Linked DNA regions of Homo sapiens: region 2 is linked to region 1. Evidence: promoter capture Hi-C in human tissues and cell types (Jung and others, 2019). All regions are on one chromosome and are shown on one strand. The core of a region is centred on a gene start or on the middle of the fragment in contact, and the rest is flanking DNA. Distances in the headings are between cores, read along the strand shown.

What was found. Contacts are between HindIII fragments. The study calls those that stand out against the background at their distance.
Region 2: a contact is called between a fragment that was not itself captured here and the fragment with the promoter of CRH in region 1, in 2 of the 25 tissues and cell types used here (spleen and thymus).

Annotation. Positions count from the first base shown.
Region 1 is chr8:66,175,739-66,181,543 of GRCh38, forward strand. CRH (corticotropin releasing hormone) reads right to left here and starts at 2,726. Exons shown (of 2, transcript NM_000756.4): 1 at 2,555-2,726; 2 at 638-1,753. The coding sequence starts at 1,739. The coding sequence ends at 1,149. LOC112268029 (a long non-coding RNA gene) reads right to left here. Exons shown (of 4, transcript XR_002956713.2): 4 at 4,148-4,222. RefSeq lists an enhancer at 1,612-1,681. The HindIII fragment of the contact is 9,798 bases long and covers 1-4,990 here.
Region 2 is chr8:66,276,207-66,282,333 of GRCh38, forward strand. All of the region lies in intron 1 of LOC102724687 (a long non-coding RNA gene), which reads right to left. Among named protein-coding and RNA genes, the nearest start is that of LINC00967, 87 kb to the left of the region's middle. The HindIII fragment of the contact is 5,569 bases long and covers 1-5,558 here.

The DNA of each region.
Region 1 (5,805 bases), core at 1,476-3,975:
TAGGGTTGACATAAGCAAAAATGTGGAGGATATTTGTGTAATTATTAAAGTCAAAATGTTCTTCATAAGAAAATTTTCCTATGTGACATTTTATAATGACTAAATTTAGTCGTCTTAAGTGGAGATGCTATTAAGTTTCTCTTATTAGATGTAGTCATTGGAAAATAGCTTAGAAAAAATAGTTTTATGGTACCAAAGTAGTAGTTTGACAGAGTGAGTTTTTCTCATAGAAAAAGAATGCAGCATTTTGGCCATACAGTTTGGAGGAATTTCTAGCTTGACACTTCTCTCTTCCTCATCTTTTCCCCACTATCTCCAATTATTTCATATATTTTAATTGATCAGGGCTAAATGTTATTTCCATTATAAAATGATCTTCCCTTTTAGAATTACCATGTTTTAGAGCTGCTGGGAGCAACTTCCTGAATTATTAACTCAACCTCAGAGAAGTAGTCCATGGCACAGAGATGAGCCCAACGTGATTGCAGGGTCTGTGTAAGCCACTGACATATGTTTGCATTTTTAGTGGAAAAATATAATGCAGGAAGTTTTGCTTTTCTTTTCTGGTGCTGAAGACAATTTGGAGGAAGCTAAGAGAGTATTTCCAGTGTATGAGCACTGAAGAGAAACAGTAAAGTCATGATTACCTTTGCAACTTTTATTAAAAATATAAGTATTCAACATTCTCTTACACAACCAAACTGACCAAGGACTGGAAAGATGTTTTATTACTGAAACGTTTACAAGAGAAAGTTGTTTCAAAGAGCTTACAGATTTAGTCTTACCCACCCAAGAGAATGGCATTCTCTTTGGCTCAGACCACAACAAAAACAATTGAGTGACTTCTGTCTGCTTTTTCAAACAAAACGTTTTCTCACAGGTCTACATTCTCTTTAAAACACCACTATAAACACCTGGAAACGGAAACTAAACGTAGACAAAACGAATAACATTGTGTTGCTGCTGCACGTGAATACACTTTGTGCATGCTAAGTAAGGGGTATAGGCTCTCTCCCTCTCTCCCTCTATGTTTCAAGCTATATAAAAATAAACAAATGGCATAAGAGCAGCGCTATGGTACAGAATACTGTATTTTTTTAAATTTTTTTTGTGCTAAATGCAGATTCTTTTTGGCCAAACGCACCGTTTTATTTCCCAATAATCTCCATGAGTTTCCTGTTGCTGTGAGCTTGCTGTGCTAACTGCTCGGCCCTGGCCATTTCCAAGACTTCCCGGAGGAGGTGGAAGGTGAGATCCAGGGAGATGGGAGGCTCCTCGGACCGCCTTTCTCTCTCCGGTGCCTCCTGGTGGCCGCCGAGGGCATTCCTAGCGCCGCGCTCCGCGAGAGCCGCGGGGCTGTCGAGCGAGCGCCGAGGCAGCAGCAGCTGCTGCAGCAACACGCGGAAAAAGTTGGCGGTCGCCTGTTCCGGCGAAGGGCGGCTGCCGCTGCCTCCGGCGAGGAGCGAGGAGGCGGGCGAAAGGGGAGCGGCCGGGCTCTTGTTGAGGTTCCCCAGGCGGAGGAAGTACTCCTCTCCCATGCGGAGCAGGACCGGCCGAGCCTGCGGCTGCTGGGGCTGCTCGGACTGCGGCGGCGGCTGGAAGAAATCCAAGGGCTGAGGGTGCTGCGGCGCCTGCCGAGCTCCCGGGACCGGCCCGCGGCTCAGGAGCGCCCTGCATGGCGGGCAGGGCAGGAGAGCCACCAGCAGGACTCCCGCGGACACAAGCAGCGGCAGCCGCATGTTAGGGGCACTCGCTGCGGCACAGAGGTGGGCGGAGGGCGGAATGAGAGAGGGGAAGAGAGAAAGAAAGAGTTGGTTAGAGTTCGCTCAGCTGGGAGGTGCACACGGGGTCTTCCTACGGGACTGCCTTAGACGTGCTGGGCTTTGGCCTCAGTGATTCGGATGGGCGCTGTCCGCGGTGCTGAAGCGCCTGGGGAGCGGGGAAAGGGGGCGCCTGCAGGGCTCCGCACCTAAGCTCATGCGCTCACCGGCCAGGAGTGACCCTTCTTTCTAGACTCTGAAAGGACGGTCCCTGCGTCCTCTTCCTAACGATCCTCAAAACTAATTTTCCCGATCCTAGAGAAGAGCCACAGATTTAAGATCCCACCCGCGCTGACTACCTCCCTTCCGGATATTTCAGCATTTTCTTCCAAATTGAGAACTACTGCCTCATGGTCCTCCCTCTCCACTTCTGCCCTTGCTGCCTTATCTCGGGGGTTAGGATAGAAGGGGGTGGGGGAGCTCCTTTACACAGCCAGCAAGGAGCAACTGGCAGCACGGGTAACGAAGAGCAGCCGTCTAAGTTTGCTTTTGCCACATCCCAGCTACTATTGTAATCTTAAGGAATAGTCCGCGAACACGCGCGCACACACACACGCACGCACGCGCGCATACACACACACACATACGCATACACACATGCATACACACACACACACGCACGCACACACATGCATACACACGTACACAGGCAGGGGCAGCCGGCTCCGCGGCGCACATCGCGGCAGCTCAGGCAACGCAAAGTTGGTGGCGTGTTCCGTCCAGGCGCTCCCTACCTTCCCAGGCGCTTCGCAGGTGAGCCGGGTGCTGCCGCCTCTCTGCAGAGAGACGTCTCCGGGGGCTTTCTCTGGAGGTTGTCTTCCTTTCTCTTTACTGTTCCCACTCTCTTTTTCTTTCTCTCCTCTCTTTCCCCTCAGTCTCTCAATGGACTTGGTCTCTGAGTTTCTCCACTCCAGAGCCTGGAGTGGGATTTTATAGTGTCGACCCTCTTCAAAAACCACGCAGCATTTGCCTAATAAGCTGACGCTCTCTTGACAGCTCGATTGCGTGCTGCCTCTGCTCCTGCATAAATCATAGGGCCCTGCCAAGGAACGAGGGGCAGAATTTTGCTATCTCAACACTGAATCTCACATCCAATTATATCAACAGATATTTATCGCCTCTTGGTGACGTCAACGAGCCCTAAAATGGAAGGGCTTCTTATGACTTGTCCATTGACAAAAATTCTTGAATGAGATTTCCCAAGTGTGAAAACATATTGACCTCTTACTATGAAAGGCCATATTAGGGGTGTGCAAAGAGACAGCGAATGGGAGGAGGAAGGGGAAGTGGGAAGGAAGTGAGGTGTCCCAGTGCAGCCCTGCCAGGAAAGCAGCAGCCAGTTGGAGGGGGTGGACCTGGATGCCCCTTCTCCTAACCTCCCTGACCAGGTGTCTCTGACAACACCTCAGTATCTGGAAATATCCCTTTGCTAGAGACAGAGTCCCACCATCTTTCTGCCTGGAAAAGAATGAAGCATCAGGAGAGGGGTGTGCAGGAACATCCAGCTTTTAAACGTCTATCTGCTTTTTCCTCCCAAGAGCAAGCACATAAAGGAGTTATGAGCCTGCAGAAGCAAGGCCAATAAATCTCTCAAAATGCAGTTCAAGTTTTTTAGATGATGACAAGAGCTACTCCCATAGTGAAGGGGCACAAACCGGGGTTAGTAAGGGGTGCGGCAAAGATTTTAGGTTATCTCAGAAACTCTCTGCTCCTTTTTTTGTCTCTCTTCTCACAATCTAAAATTAATTGTGGACTCCCTTTTCTATTCCCAAATTAAAGAGAGAGGCGGCCAGTGAGAGATGCATGAGTTAAACAAGCTTTACTTATTCTACTGAATGCAAACTCAATGAGAGGCATCCATTCTAACTTCCTAATCTATGTTGAAAAAGGCTTAAACTGCTTGACTACAGGGCTAAATTCATTAGTTACATGTTTTCATTGGTCAATATTGAGTCTGTAAAAAAAAACTCGTTCATTTCACCTCCAAATACTATCAACATCCATAATAGTATCCACATCTGGGCCACCCAGGGTGGTTCTTTTTAATTATTTCTTTTTCCAAATCCAAATGTGCTTCATGTCAGCCTGTTAAATAAATAAATGCTCTCTGACATGTCGCAGAATGGAATGGAATGCTAAGCCTGTAAAACTATATTCAATTTTTGATTAATTGACACTATCATATAGGTGGGAGGCAGTTACCTCTAATTCTGCAATTCAAAATGCAATTCCAAGTTCTTGTGCCTGTGATTCAATTCAGCTTCCAGATAACCATCAGAGTTGTTTATCGGAAATTTCCTGCTCCTCATTTCTGATTACTTCTGCTGCTTCCTTTGTAGCTAATGTGACAAATGATGCAATGCATATTTCAACTTCCATTTTGGGTCTATACCAATCCACAACTGCTCTTAGGAACAAAGGGAAGGCAGGGAGAGAAATGTTGACAGTTTGCAGAGAAGCCAGCCCATAGTTGGATCACTGCACCATGTTATGTACTTTTGACATAAGAGAACAGAGAGAATGTGCCTACTTGGAAAGATGTGAGTTGTTAATAGAAGATCATGATTATGGAAAATGGTTGAGTTTCTGGGAGAAAGCTGTGTTTTATATTGGTAGGAAAGCACACAGAACCTTAGATTTTGTTATTGTGGGCTTTTTTTTTTTTTATTAAGCTGGAATGGGTTCAACATTTTTGCTTACTTTCCTTTATGAACTGTTTTCTGACCCTGTTAGCAGATTTCAGCTTGGATGTCAATCTGGAGGTGAAACGTTGACTTGGAATAGGAAGTTTCAGTGCAGTAAATGGACACAGAAGATAAACTAGGAAAGGGATGTGGTTATGAGTTTAGCTGGGGAGGTCTGGGAGGTTCTTCCAGAGAAGACACAACAAGTTTTGGGCTCTGACTAAACCCATGCCCATACAAATCTCTCTCCCATTGGGCTATCTGGGGGATATTGTTTTAGTATAGCTCCCTCATCACTGTTGAGTCCTTGCTGTGAGGTTTTCTTGGGGTAAGTCATTAATAGAGCCAAAGTGGCTCCAACTAGGGAGTAAGGAAAAAAATGTTCCTGAACCCCAGAGGAAGAGAAGCTATGCACAGCCACAATTTATCTGTATTTGTCTGTTCTCACACTGCTAATAAAGACATACCTGAGACTGGGTAATTTATAAAGGAAAGCAGTTTAATGGACTCACATTTTCACATGGTAGGGGAGGCCTCACAATCATGGCAGAAGGCAATGGAGAAGCAAAGACACGTCTTACATGGTGGCAGGCAAGAGAGAGCATGTGAAAGAGAACTCCCCTTTCTAAAACCATCAGATCTGATGAGACTTATTTACTATCACAAGAACAGCATGGGAACAACCCACCCTTATGATTCAGTTACCTCCCACCAGGTCTCTCCCACAACACGTGGGAATTATGGGGGCTACAATTCAAGATGAGATTTGGGTGGGGACACAATCTAACCATATCATTATCCAAAATGTATATCTCATTAAATCACGCAGTTTTCACATTAGAAATGACTTAAAGAGATCACTTGGTTTAAATGAGAACCAGAGAAGTTAAGTGACTTACCTGAAGTCACTCAGCAAGTTAGTGGTAAAGTGAGAATTAGGAACCAGCTCTTTTGATTGCAAGCCCATATTATTTGCATAATGTAACAATAACCTTTGGACTTTCTTTTCCAGCAGAGGCACACAAACTGAGGTGAAAAGATGAATTTTAAAATATTTTAGAGCTAGAATCTCACTTTCTTGCCCAGGCTGAAGGCACTGTGATACTCACTGCAGCCTAGAACTCCAGGACTCAAGCGATCCTCAGACTCCTGAGCAGTTGGAATTATAGGCATCAATCACCATGCCTGGCCTGAGAAGATGCATTTAGATAAAGTAATATATTCACACACCAATTGTGGAGTAGCTTTTTATACATTTTCCTTATTTGATAAACTAAGGCATGAGAATGCAGAAATTCTCT
Region 2 (6,127 bases), core at 1,524-4,023, 100 kb after region 1:
AATATTTGTCTCAGAAAGGCAAAAAAAGCAAGAAATCCAGAAGTGTCAGGGTTTTTTTGTTGTTGTTTTTTGTTTGTTTTTTGTTTTTGTTTTTGAGACAGGGTCTCACTCTCACCCAGGCTGGAGTGCAGTGGTGTGATCTCAGCTAACTGCAACCTCCACCTCCAGGGGTCAAACAATTACCCTGCTTCAGCCTCCCGAGTAGCTGGGACTACAGGCGCCCGCCACCACGCCTAGCTAATTTTTGTATTTTCAGTAGAGACAGGGTTTTGCCATGTCGGCCAGGCTGGTCTCGAACTCCTGACCTCAGGTGATCCGGCTGCCTCGGCCTCCCAAAGTGCTGGGATTACAGGTGTGAGCCACTGCACCCAGCCTGTCTCCTCCCATGTCTACAGCTGTCCACATTTCTAGCCACACAGACTCTATCCCCCACCTGCAGGGCTCCCGGCCTTCCCTGATTCAGCTGAGGAGCCTTGGCAAGGTGCCCACAGAGGATGCTGGGTCTCTGGGAGCTTGGACCATGTTCTTCCTGCTCATCTGCACGTCAACCAGGGTGCATCGAGCACGTGGCACAGCATCTGGCCTGCAGCCACCCCTCAGTAAAATTCTTGTTGAATGAATGAATAAGAGTGAGCCTGGAGGAAGATGGGTAAGCATGATCGAATGCCTCTGATCCCTGATAGGACAGTACATCATGGCACCACTCAGGACCACTTCAGCAGTCCCCAAACTTAAACATGCCCTCAAGTCTCCCCAGGGAGCTTCTTAAAAATGCAGATTCCTGGACCTCACCCTGCAGATTGTGGAGCTGAGACACAGCCAGGTTTGGGAATCATGGCATCCAATATTAGGAGCTGAGAGATGATTGGACACTGTATGCTTGGCCCAGTGCAGGCAGGAGGATCACTCGTGTCCAGGAGTTTGAGAACAGCCTGGGCAATATAGTGAGACCTCATAAGAGGAAGGAGAGAAAGAAAAGAAAGAAAGAAAGAAAGAGAGAGAGACAGAAAAAAAGAAGAAGGAGGAGGAGAAAGAGAAAGAGAGAGAGAGAGAGAAAATTATATACTTATTCTCCCCCTTAGTTGGTCAATGGCTCTGAATTTCTGGATCGTGATGAGGCTGTGCCACTTTCTGTGCGGTACAGAGCCGGTGCCCTCTTGGGCACTTGGTAAATTGTGAATGTATATTAATAGTCATAAAGCTTTTCCCTTTATCCTTCCAAGCTTCTGCTAAGGGGGAATCCAGTTCTTCCCTCTCACTGTGAATGGTGGGCTTACAGGTCTTGAAAAGAGCATAAAGGAATTAGCCTGGTGATGACAGGAAAGTGAGTGCATCCTTCCTGAATGCAGCCAGCAGCTGCTGGGAGAGACTCCAGGAGACCAGCTCAGGCTCAGAGGAAAGAGAGTGTGTTCTTCAATCAAACCATATTAAGTGCCACAAGAGTCACTTTAAAAGGAGGTGACAGAAAAACACAAAGGGAAAACTGGTCCTAAGGTAATGTGGGCCTGAAATCGAGTCTTAAAAAAGAGACAGTTTGGGAAAAGGGGAGGTATGAATGGAGAGAAATCAAATACTGAGCATGACCTCCCAGCAGAGAGTTGAAAACAATACAGCAGGCTTTCCAGCAGGGAAGAGTTTATTAATAACACTGATAATATAATGAAATGTACAGTTGTGAGGCGCTTCTCCTTCAGAGAGGTCAAAGCATTTTCCTGTGTGGCCAAATCCCTCTGCAATCTGATTCAGTGGTTTCTGTGGCTGGGACGGAAGGGAGGAAACTGAGGCATGGGGAGACGGGTGAAATTAAGCCTCCTGCACCATTCACAGCAGATCAGACCCATGTGAGATCAGACCTCCTTGAGCCCAGGCTGGGTCGCGTGCTAGCCTGTGCAGAACATTGGTGCCTCCCTCCCTGAGCTCCTCCCCTTGCAGCAGTCTCTGCTAGGCTGCCAAGGGGGCAAGTGGGCTGTGTTGATGTTCCTTTGTACTCGCATTGCTCTTAGGATAAAACCCACACTCCTTAGTATGGCATCAGGCCGAGGTCTTCATGATTAAGCAATACCCTCCTCTCCAGCCTTTGTTACAGCAGCAACTAGGAAACTAATACCTGACTCAGGGGTCATCCAGGGGTAGAGAAAGAGTATCCTAATCATTTCCTGCAGCAAAAACAAAATACCTGAGATTGGGTAACTTATAAAGAACATAAACTTTTTATTTCTCACAGTTCTGGAGGCTGGAAAGCCCAGGACCTGGGCACTGGCAGATTCCATGTGTGTCTGGGGAGGGCTGCTCTCTGCTTGCAAGTTGGTGTCTTGTTGCTGCATCCTCCAGAGGGGAGGAGCACTGTGTCCTCACACAGCAGACGGGACAGGAGGGATGAAGTTGCCCCTTCAAGCCCTTTTATAAGGCACTAATCCATTCATAAGGGCCAAGCCCCCATGGCCTACTCACCTCCTAAAGGCCTCACCTTGCAACACTATTGCATTGGGAATTAAGTTTCAACAGGAATTTTGGAGAAGACACAAACATTTAAACCATAGCAGAAGGAAAGGGGCCCCCTCCCGCTCCAGCCCCTTCAGCCTCAACTACTATGGTGGCCCCACATGCCTGTTCCTGTTTCTCAGTTATGCCAACAAGTGCGCCAGGGTCCCCGTCTCCACACCGGGGCTGGGAGTGTCCAGCCCTCTTTCTCCACCTGGATAGCCCCTGAGTTCTTGTATTCGTTTCCTAGTTCCTTCCTAACAACATACCTCAAATTGGGTGTATTAAAGCAACAGAAATGTATGGTCTCAGTTCTGGAGACCAGAAGTCTGAAATCAAGATGCTCGCCAGGGCTATGCTCCCTCCGAAGGTGTGAGGGCCTCTCTCCCAGACTCTGGTGGGTCCCTGGCTTGTGGCGGCATAACTCCAATCATCACATGGCACTCCCCCTGTGTGCGCGGCTGTTCCTGTGCCCAAACCTTCCCTTTTTTTTTTTTTTTTGAGATGGAGTCTCGCTCTGTCTCCCAGGCTGTAGTGCAGTGGCGCGATCTCGGCTCACTGCAAGCTCCCTCTCCCGGGTTCCCGCCATTCTCCTGCCTCAGCCTCCCAAGTAGCTGGGACTACAGGCGCCTGCCACCGCGCCTGGCTAATTTTTTTGTATTTTTTTAGTAGAGATGGGGTTTCACTGTGTTAGCCAGGATGGTCTCGATCTCCTGACCTCGCGATCTGGCCGCCTTGGCCTCCCAAAGTGCTGGAATTACAGGCGTGAGCCACCACGCCCGGCCCGAACCTTCCCTTTTTTATAAGGACACTAGTCATACTGGGTTGGAGCCCATTCTAATGACCTCATTTTAACTTGATTACCCCTGTAAAGGACCTAATTCCAAATAATGGCACATTCTGAGGTACTGGGGCTGAGGATTCCCACATATCTTTCTTGCAGGGAACACTGTTCCACTCATAATGGTCCTAAAAGCCATAATTTGAGCATCACCCCTAGGCCGGGCTGGGCTGAGTGTCCTTCCCCTGCACCTCTCTGGTGTCCTGCCTGGTCCTCATCACACCACATTATGAAGCCCACTTGTCTGTGCTCCCCACTTGCCTGTGACTCTGAGAGAAGAAATGGAGGCTTCTCTCAGATCCTACTCAGGTGGGTACATTGTGGGCATCAAACATGTTCCAATGAATGAACGCAGACAGTGATGGATCTTGCCAACGGTGGTGCTGGCTCCATTACCCGCCATCACCACAGGAGTACAGGTGAACACATGGTCAGCAGGCTTGAGTGACCTCTGTCCAGACTCCGGCCTCAAGGACAACTAGGTGAGCTGGCAAATTTAGTCCATTTGTCTCATGCCAACCTGGTCCCGACAGCTGGAAACTTCAGCAAAGATGGGGGCCCACAGGATGGCTTTTCAGGAGCTCCAAACCATTGTCCTGAATGTCATCTTTCAAGTTGTGATCATGAATGGCTGCCAAGATGAAGAGAATTTTTTTTTTCTAGTTGTTTTTCTCCCTGATCTTTCTCAGCACCCCATGGACCCATTCTTCTAGATGAGAGCCCTTGAAGGGGAACAATAGCAGAAACTCAAAGCTGTTGCTAAAATGTGCAGCTTGCTTCTGTCCCAACATGCAGAGCAGTTGCAGGGCCGCCACTCACCCATTACTTTCTCATATTCTCTCTGCTGCAAGTCAAAGGCCCACTCGGGGCTGGCTCACGTCCCTGTTGTGGCTGGACCAGTCAGGACATTGCTCAGTGCTGGGTTTCTGACTGTAGCATCTGGCCTGTTCAAAGCAAGTTTTGAAATTAAAACCACTATCTTTCTACCCAGCTGTGGTAAAAATGCTGAAGATTAATTTGGAAGTGTAGGTCACAGCTGTTCTTCAATAACTGGCACATCTGTGTGGACGCTCTTATTTCTGTCTTAGTTCTTTCCTGCTGCTCTAACAACATACCTTAGACTGAGTAATGTATAAATCACAGAAATTTATTGCTCACAGATCTGGGCATTGGGACGTTCAAGATCAAGGAGCTGGCAGGTTTGGTGTCTGGTGATGGCCCATTTCTAATGATAGTGCCTTCTAGCTGTGTCCTCACATGGTGAAAGGAGCATGCAAGCTTTCTCAAGCCTCTCTTATACGGACACTAATGCCATCTACTGGGGCTTTACCCTCATGACTTAATCACATCCTAAAGGCCCTGGCTCTTAACACTATCACATTGGAGATTAGGCTTCAACATATGAATTTGGGGAGGACACAAACATTCAAACCATAGCAAACTCCAATTTAATGAACTATAAGATAAAGCTGTTTTCTCCAAGCTGGGCTGCTCACTCAGCGGTAGAACATCAATGAGCGTTGTATTTGCATTTACCCTTTTGTTCCCAATGTGCTCTGGTGGGTTTGCGCAGCATAACTCCAAGTTGTCTTATCTATGTCTTTTGGATGTGCTAAGATCCTTCCCAGGGAATGCAAAACACGTGAGCAGGGTGTTGCTGGAAGCGCCAGCACAGGTGGGAAGGATCCAGCCACTTCCCTTCTCCAGGGGTTCCTTCATGTTTTCAGGGATGTGAGTTCCCCATCCTTAGAGTACAGCCTTTGCTTTCCATCACTGATTGTTACACTAATAATTAACAATAATAGCGATCATTTACTGAGCAACTTCACAGCACCCTCCAAATTAGGCCCCCTTGTCCACACTCTATTAGAGAAGAAGCCAAGGGGTTATTTGCCAAACACTGACATGGTCAGTAAGTGGTAGATCTAGGAGTCTGGCCCCGGGTGGTTCAATTCTAGGGCCTATTTTGTTGGCTGAGTCACCATCAACTCCTATGGGTCTTGAGAAATCAGTCAAAAACCAAACTTTGAATTGAATGAGATGTAACCCTGTCCTCTGCACATCCGGCACAAAGCACATGAGCTGATCTTACTGACTGACATAACTGGACTGAATCTTCCTCAATTGTTTTCCCCATTCCTGTCCTCCAATCATTGACGCAGATGGTGGGATGAGGCAAGAAAGCCAACTGAGTGCAAGCACAGACTGAAGCAGCACCAAAGAGAAGAAAATAACCTCCTTGTACCCAAGTAAGCCTCCAGCAGATTGGGCCCTGTGGGGATCCTTGCACAGCCTCATTGTAACAGCTGTGCCCTGGGTTCTTGTCTCTGCACTATCTATAGACTGTGCACAAATGACACTGGTTCCTGCATGCCTCACAGGGAAAGTAACTCAGCTCCTACCAGGCGAGCAGAGACGAAAATATGTCATAGGCTTCTATAGAAGTCATTCTTGTGCCAAGGCCAAAGGACAGGATGGATAGGAGACCAGGCTTTGTAGGAACTCTATATATGGAGAGAGGAAGTGAGAAATGGCCTCAACTGACTCCAGAGACCAGACATGTGAATGTTCTTCATTTTAATTGACTTCTAATTCACACACATGGACCCAGGAATGTTTATAAAACCCCACTTCTGACGTGGACTTAAAGCCTCAGTGACCCTGCAGGAGGAGCTGGAGGTGCTAAGGGAGTGTCAACCCCCCACCCCCACCCCCCCACTGCCTAGAGCCTTCCAGTGGCTCCCATTACCTTTGGGAGGAAGTCCAAGCTCTTTGACCAGTCATGAAGTCTGCACCGTGTGGCTT